Regions from separate parts of the Homo sapiens genome. Here region 2 is linked to region 1. Evidence: promoter capture Hi-C in 16 types of primary human blood cells and fetal thymus (Javierre and others, 2016). All regions are on one chromosome and are shown on one strand. The core of a region is centred on a gene start or on the middle of the fragment in contact, and the rest is flanking DNA. Distances in the headings are between cores, read along the strand shown. Region 1 holds the start of CNKSR3 (CNKSR family member 3). Region 2 overlaps TFB1M (transcription factor B1, mitochondrial).

What was found. The method cuts DNA at HindIII sites, captures the fragments that hold promoters and counts their contacts. A CHiCAGO score of 5 or more calls a contact.
Region 2: a fragment that was not itself captured here is called in contact with the fragment with the promoter of CNKSR3 in region 1 in 1 of 17 cell types (erythroblasts); the score reaches 6.4 in erythroblasts.

The regions. Positions count from the first base shown.
Region 1 is chr6:154,509,100-154,513,126 of GRCh38, forward strand. It overlaps CNKSR3 (CNKSR family member 3), which reads right to left and starts at 1,586. Exons shown (of 13, transcript NM_173515.4): 1 at 964-1,586. The coding sequence starts at 1,015. LOC101928868 (a long non-coding RNA gene) reads left to right here and starts at 1,692. Exons shown (of 2, transcript XR_001744422.2): 1 at 1,692-1,863. The HindIII fragment of the contact is 4,325 bases long and covers 179-4,027 here.
Region 2 is chr6:155,308,782-155,312,735 of GRCh38, forward strand. TFB1M (transcription factor B1, mitochondrial) reads right to left here. Exons shown (of 7, transcript NM_016020.4): 2 at 2,407-2,558. Among named protein-coding and RNA genes, the nearest start is that of TFB1M, 3.7 kb to the right of the region's middle. The HindIII fragment of the contact is 1,219 bases long and covers 1,939-3,157 here.

The DNA.
Region 1 (4,027 bases), core at 336-2,835:
ACAAATAGTAACTTGAAACAGAGATGTCGTTGGGGGTGGGGGGAAACCATGAAAATACAGATTGTTCTTGGTGGACTTTGTTCTCTTGAAAGTACAGAAAAGGGTTGAGTAAACTCTAGTACCTTTCCCTCGAAATCGTAGGAGACATTGAAAAGTAAGCGAGCCAGCTAGGAGGACAAGCTTCTACCTCTGCTCATTCCCCCCACCACCCCCCCACCGCCCCAGCCCCACTGCCTTCCTCATCCCAAATATTGTATGAATCAAGACAGTGGTTCCAAACAATTATATTTCTCCTTCCCAGTGCTTACATGTGGCCTGAAAATGCAGCGCCACCGGGGATACTGGCGCCTCCCGGAGCAAAAGTCACTGCCTCCCGGGGAGTCCTGGCTCGAGGTTTCTCCCTGGCGCAAATGCTATGGTGTTGGCTTTTGCGCGGCCCTCTCGCCTTCTCCAACAAAAACAGACAGGCTCGGCGGACCCGCCGGAGTCTCCCTCTACCTGTCCGACAGCCCTGTCACGCCTGCGGACGGCTCTGGGCAGGCGGCATGGACGAGGTCCCGCGGGAGTCACCCACACAAAGGCACCTTGTGCCTCTGCACTCGGGCCCCCGGGTCGCCGGGCACCGCACCGGGGCCAGGCAGGGAGAGCGCCCCCCGGCCCGAGTGCCGAGTCCCGAGATCGGCATCCCCAGCCCTCAACCGCCACAGAAAGGCCACCCCTACTCCCTGGTTTAAAGATAGGGCTCCCCTCGGCTTGCCACAATCCGCACCCTGGAAAGGAAGAGCTCGGAGCAGGTACGAGAGATAGGAGCGCACAGGCCACTCGGCAGAAGTTTGCATTGTCACCGGGCTGTGCCCTCACCGCTTCTCGCCGGGAGGAAGGGCCAAGTACCCTCTTCCCCAGCTCCTCGTCCGCCCCATCCCCGAGGCTGGAGGACTCCGGACCCCCCCAAGGCCCGCGCACCTCTAGTCCAGTCCACCACTTGTTTGGGGCTCCACTTGGTCACGGGTTCCATGGTAAACCGCTTCGCCTCTCGCTGGGCTGGAGAGTCGCAGATAAAGTGCTGCTGCCTGCGCTCCGGTGCCCCTTCCCGGGAGGGCGCGCCCGCGGCTGCTCCCCTGCGCCCGAGCGACTCCGTCAAGACTGCATGGCCGCGGTCAGCCAGTCGTCCCAGCGCGGCTCCGCCAGGGGAGCCCGGCCCTCTCCCTCCAGCTGCCACAGTCCAGCTGCAGCTCCTCCTTCCCCCGCCGCCGCCGGGATCCCGGGCACAGCTGCTGCTCCCGAGCGACGGCAGCTGCAGGCACGCCGGGCTGCGACCCCAGACCCCTGGCCTCGGCTCGGCACGGGAGCCTCCCGGCCCGCGACCACTTCCTCGGATCTCTCGAGGCGCGATCGGCTCTCCCTCGGCCGGTCTTCTCGCCTGCTGGCTCTCCGGGGTCCCCGCTCCGCGTGCGCTGGCGTCCCGGAGCCTTCCCGGCGCAGGTCCCACCTCCTGCGCCGCCCTCCCGTGCCGCCCTGGCAGGGCCGAGCGCAGAGCGTGCGCGCTCGGGTTGCAAAGTTTCAGCTCCGGTTGCTGCAAACCGAATAAAAGAGAGGGCGGGGCCGAGGGTCTAGGGAAACTCGTGGGAGGGGGCGGGTCCGCCCGAAGCGGCGGACTCGGGTTACTTTCCCTCTCTAAGCCGGTCCGGCTCACACCCGCAGCGTCCCGGGCCCCGCTTTCCTTTTCAAGGGGCGGGTTGTAGATCGCGCGCGCACCCTGGAGAGCCCGCTGGTTTGTGTGAGGCCCTGGCCCTGTGGGTAGCAGAACACTCTGTCTCGCTGTGAGCAACAATACACTAAAAAAAAAAGAAAAGAAAAAAAAAAGTAAGATCTGCATGTTCTGTTCATTTTAAATGCTTTATATCGTAATACTACTCTGCCATTAAGCCGTCATTTTAGGTTTCTTAAAGTAGAACAATTTTTTTTTTTAGATGGAGCCTCGCTCTGTCGCCCAGGCTGGAGTGCAGTGGCGCGATCTCAGCTCACTGCAGCCTCTGCCTCCCAGGTTCCAGCGATTCTCCCGCCTCAGCCTCCGGAGTAGCTGGGATTACAGGCGTCTGCCACTACGCCCGGCTAATTTTTGTATTTTTAGTAGAGACAGGGTTTCACCATGTTGGCCAGACTGGTCTCGAAATCCTGAACTCAGGTGATCCGCCAGCCTCGGCCTCCCGAAGTGCTAGGATTACAGGCCTGAGCCACCGCGCCAGGCCAGAACAATTTTATTTCATTTATATGTTGACTGAAATCGTAACAATGTAACTCTTTTAATGCTATTGCTATGAAATTTCAACTTTGCGACTAAAATTAGATTGATGGCTTTTAGCGTTATATTTTGCTATATTATAATTTCATATTTACAGAGTGAGCTAATGCTCCTTGGGATTAGTCATTAACCGTGAGAGGAAAGCTGTTAGCCAAGAAAAAAAAAATAGCTCGTGCACAATTTCAGCGCCTGGCAGGGGAGGGCCCTTCCACATTCATGGACTGCAACTGGGGCCAGAGTTAATGCTAAACTGGGGGAAAATCTAATTTGAATGCCTGCCTCTCCTTCAAGTTCTCCCTGCATCCTAACCGCCCCCCCAACCCCTGCCACCCTCGCCACCACCCCTCCCCTCACCCCCCAACACCCCCCCCAACCCCCCACCCCCGCCCCGCCCCGCCCAGCAACCTCTTCCTCCCACTCTTTTTGGCACTGAATGATTCTTACTTTCAATTACGGTTATTTATTTACATCTTCCTCTTGGAGACTATTAACCCCTTGAGGGCAGAACCTACTTGATCTCATATAGAGTTTTCTCTCCTCCCTTTCTTCCTACCACCTAACTTGTAGCACCCAGCACGGGACCAAAGGCAAGGTTGGTATTTATTCATTCAGTAAATATCCGGGAATGCTTCCTATGTGCCAGCCACTGTATTCATTCAGTATTTGTTGAATTCGTGTGATATGTGCTACTTACACAGGTCTGTTTGGACGCACATGTGGAAAAATAGCTAGCAGCCAGCCTAGCATCTGATGAGCTGGAGCATCCAAGCAAAAGAAACATTTTTAAAAAGCAAAACATCAGACCCACCTCCCATTCAACTCCCCTAGAGGACTGGGCAACACAGAGACACACAACTATCAAATATAGTGATTCTTTTTCTTCATCTAGCGAAAGTGACTGGCAGACCACACAAGTTGGCAAAGGCAATGACAAAATTCCTGATATAGTAGTTGTCCTTAAAAAAAAAAAAAGACCTTTAAACTTAATGACATCCAGCATTAACCATCTTTACAGCAGTCAGCAGAGAGAAGGACCTTGACACTGGTTCACTGGAAAGGGTAACCAACCTGATGCACACCTTTTGTTTCAGCAATCACTGCCTGTTGTGTGATTTCTGATTATGATTAGGGTGACCACATAACTTACCTCCAAATCAAAATATTCTTGAGCATGAAAGAAGCAACTATCAAGAATTACATTGGAATAACATGAATAAACTGGGCCATACGGTCCCCACAATTATAAAAGAAAGGTCAAATATTAATGATTTTGCCGTGGAATTTTACTTGATGTTTTCACGTCTTCAGATTCATTGGCAGTAGTCTTTACCAGAAGAGCTAAAACACTAAAATTCTGCGAGTCAAGCAAGAGTTTGCAAAACATCCCACGGAGCCAACACACTATCTATACTTGGTACATAAATACAGCATAGCTAAAGAGGAAGGCCACGCTAAGATCTCTAACCCGGAAGACCAATTAACTATCTAAATGAATTAGCATTCTGTTTACACTTCAACTTCTGGAAGCTAATTACTATTTAAATAAAGCCTTCTACCTTAATTACAGCTGTTAGCACGTGAAAGTTTTAGGGAGGCCTGCCTTCCTAGCTGAAATGCAAACTTGAGGACATACAAAGCTATTAATGGCATACAAAGCTAATAAAGGCAGAATCTTAAGTAAATGGCTTTAAAAATTAAGTATATATAAAAGGATAATTTGTAAAT
Region 2 (3,954 bases), core at 1,298-3,797, 800 kb after region 1:
TACAATTTCTTTAAAAAGTAATTCTATTAGCTTAGAAATCACTAAAATGGTATCCTTAAAATAGATCACCTTCTTTCTGCTTTTACTCAGTTTTATGATTAATTTAGTACCTCTAAAACAAAGTAGTTTTACATATTGAAACATTCCTCACTGGGGAAAAAAAGGCCTATTTGATATTTTAGTACCCAACATTTCTTTTTAAGGCAAATTCCTTTCCTGCATATAAGATACTAAGAATTAATTTTGTTTCTACTAAAAACAAATGAGAAGTCAAATATACATTTCCTCTAGAGTAATTTAACTTGAAATCAGCCTTCACATTTAGAAAAAAGAGCATAAAACTTTTTCATTATCAATGCTACACAAATATTTACTTTCACTATTTAATGATACATTTAATTAATATGAGAGATACATATACATTTGTGTATATATATACACAGATGCAGAAATAGTGGTCAACTTTTTTGTTTCTCATGTGAGACATTTACTGAACACCTGCTATGTGCTAGGCACTGTTACGTGAGATAGAGGTACAGCAGGGAACAAAACAGACACACATTTCTACCCTCATGGTACTTACATTCCAGACAGGTGAGTCAATTAACAAACAAATGGGAAGAACATATATACAGTATGTCAGATGATGATAAATCGAATGAGATAAAACAAGGCTGGAATTAGGAACGCAGTGACTTATGGGTTTGGGGGAAACTGAGAAGAGAAGGGTGGCAGTCGCTCTTTTCAACAATCTGCCTTCAAAGATCTTTTGTTCATATCAAAGAGGGGAATATGTGGGAATGAATGGAAATCTGGTTCACCCCCTGGCCTAATAAGAAAGAATAAACCCAACGAATGGTGAGATATGAGGGACAAGAAGTCTTTTTAAGAGCAAAAAAGTCAGGTGAGTATTCCCTATGTCCAAAAAGGGCTACACGAATAAGCCCGAAGGGGATTATACAGTTATTTAGTTTCTTTTTATAATCTCATGATCTCACCAAAAATAATAATATTCCCACGTCCACCTCCAACTTATATATAATTCTTAAAATAAGAACACAGTTCAAAACAAAAATCACTATTAAATTCCACATTTGATCAAGGAATATGTGCCATGTGACTATCTCAACATAAAGTTTAGTATCTGAAACCAATTCTGTTAGTATAGACTGGTAAAACTAGATAAAAGGAAATATTATGTAATTTTTTAAAGCATAAAAACTAGATAAAGCAAGATTAGGGAAAAACTGCTAGGTTTCTTAAAAAAATCAGATACATGCACACAAAGTTCTAGGTTTTCAAAAACAACTTCTCAAACCGTTCTGACAGAAATTAACATTTTTCCATTAATATATATACAAGTTAGTATGAGAATATACTCGTTTAAAATCAATTTGTCCTTTTGTATGGAAGTAATAACGTAGATAACTACATTATTCTATTATAGTCACATGATAAATTGCTTCTCATCTGAGCCAAAGGTTCAGGACTCTTTTAAAATTTTAGAATTATGGAGGAATCAAAGGCCTTTAAGACATTAAGTGTTCCCCTATGAGGAAATCCCTTTACAAGATCCCTGATACAATCTATTTCACTGTTTGCCAGCGTTTTAAAAAAAGTAAGTTCCTCCTTATTTCAAATCCTCAATCCTGCCTCCCTCAATTTCCATCTATTTGTTTTAGCTCTTTCTTAGAAAAGATCAAAACAAGCTTATCCTATGTACCCCCAACCTTGGATGTGCTGCTATATACACTCTTACCCAGGGCCTCTTTTCTCCAGTTGAAACATGCCCAGTTCCTTCAACTCTCATTTCTTATACAATAACAGTGCCTGTATTTTAAAGATGCATGTATCATTTCATTTAAACCTCATCCTAAATCTATAAAAGTACAACTTCCTTCCTTCACTTAAAAAATTTACCTTATAAAAGAATGCTTAAGCTTCATAATTAGTCTCTCATGATGACAAACGTGCATATGTCTTACTCATCTTTTGTTTGTGGAAATGCTTTTTGAACCTAAATGAAGTTCTCAAAAGTCATACCAATGAGTCATTACTGGCCATTATTTATTTTTATTTATTTTTGAAGGAATGGGCCACGACATGCATAGCTATTAGCAGACTTAAAAAAAAAAATCACACAAAACAATTAATTTGTTTAGCATAAATGCTTAAAGCAGGTTTTTTTCAAGGTGTAGTCAATAGACCCTCTGAGAGTGCTTGTTAAAAATGGAGATTTCCAGATTTCTCCAGACTATGGAATCAAAATCTCTGGAATGGGGCCTTGGGGATCTATAGTTGAGGAAAAACCTACATAATCTTTGGATACCTTGGGGTTTAAGCATCATGGCATAAAGATTTAAATTCAGCTTTTGCCTCCTAAAGCAGACACTTTAAGCATCTCACCTGTAATCCAGGAATAAATCGAGTGTCCTTTTCAACCACCAGAAGTTCAGCGACGTCGGCATTAAGAATAGATCTTGTGATTCCCCCTGGCCCAGGGCCCACTTCGTAAACATAAGCATTTGTCAGATTGCCAGCTTTCCTTACAATCTTATCTAGAGGAAAAAGAGTTTTAGTTATCTCAATTAACTTGGCAAATTTCAACGTATGAAATTTAGAGAGAAAAATCTTCTATAAAAATTCAGCCATTACCCAATCAATTGATCCTTTATGTATAATATTTATTTGACTATTTAACTCTCTACCTAAATTAACATGAAGTGGCAATCGAATATGCTACCACATCACCATTGAACTGTACCAGTCCCTTAACACACACAGGATTATCATGACAAAGTTTCTTAGCTTAAATTTAGCTAATATTGTAGTTTCCATCTGTCCCATGCAAATTCCTTTCAAACTGATTTGAAACCAACCGACTCCTAAGAACAGACTGGATAAGAATGCAGCACTTTTCTATAGTTATTGAACATTGAATATCTGAATAAGCAATACTAGTTTCACATTCAGAATCTTCAGTATTGCTAGTGAAATCCAAAAGCAAAAAGTGCTGAAGTCTTATTTTTATCTAGAGACATCTTGGTGGTGGTCACTATGGCAATGGCAATAAGTTCTTAGATCGTAAGATTTTCAGAAATTTGAATTCTTAGTCATTTTCAGGAAAAAGTTAAATTGAGCAGTTGAGGGTTTTTAAAGCTTTGCACACATGCATGTTAATACAGAAAAATTAATTTTTTAATTAATCAAATTCAAGTTAGCAGCCCTTAAGACATCATAAAAAGGTAGAGTACTGACTCTGTGCAACCAGTCATCACATCTGGAAAAACATGCAATGGGCTGGTCTTAGTGATTCTGAGATATGGAAATCCAAGGAACTGGTCTTCCTAGGATAGTGGAAATTTAGTCACTAAAAACATACCAGCACTTCTTGTAGGTGTTCACAGTCCTATTTTTGCTTGTTTTCAACAACATAACTTTGTCAGCTAAAATGCGGAAACTAGTTTCTCAGCCATCCAAAAATGGTTTAGTCTTTTAACAGGGAGGGAATTAGCATCCACTGACCATCTTATCTATTATGATGGATTTACACACATTCTCACCTAATCCTTACATGTTAACCAAGGACTCCTATCCCAATTTCATTTCTCTTAACTTTTCAGTTTCCTTGTCTATTGTTTTATTTGTACAAGGTCATGGACTTCAACATAGGTATAAATCCTAAAGCCAATGCCTCTCAGAGGGAACAGGAATGATACATTATGGAATAAATTTAATACTCTCCTTCTTTAAAATGGAGAGCTACAACAGTAGGCAGGTCTCTGCTCTCAAACTTTTCAGGCACATTGAAATACAAATGAATATTAAAGAAGCGCTATCAAATCAATGAGCTTGGATTTCAATCTTGCTCTCTTCTGCCTGAGCTTCTAACCTCAGCTAAGTACCCTCATCTCCGTTAACTCTGGTTCCCATAGAAAGAGTGGATAATATCTA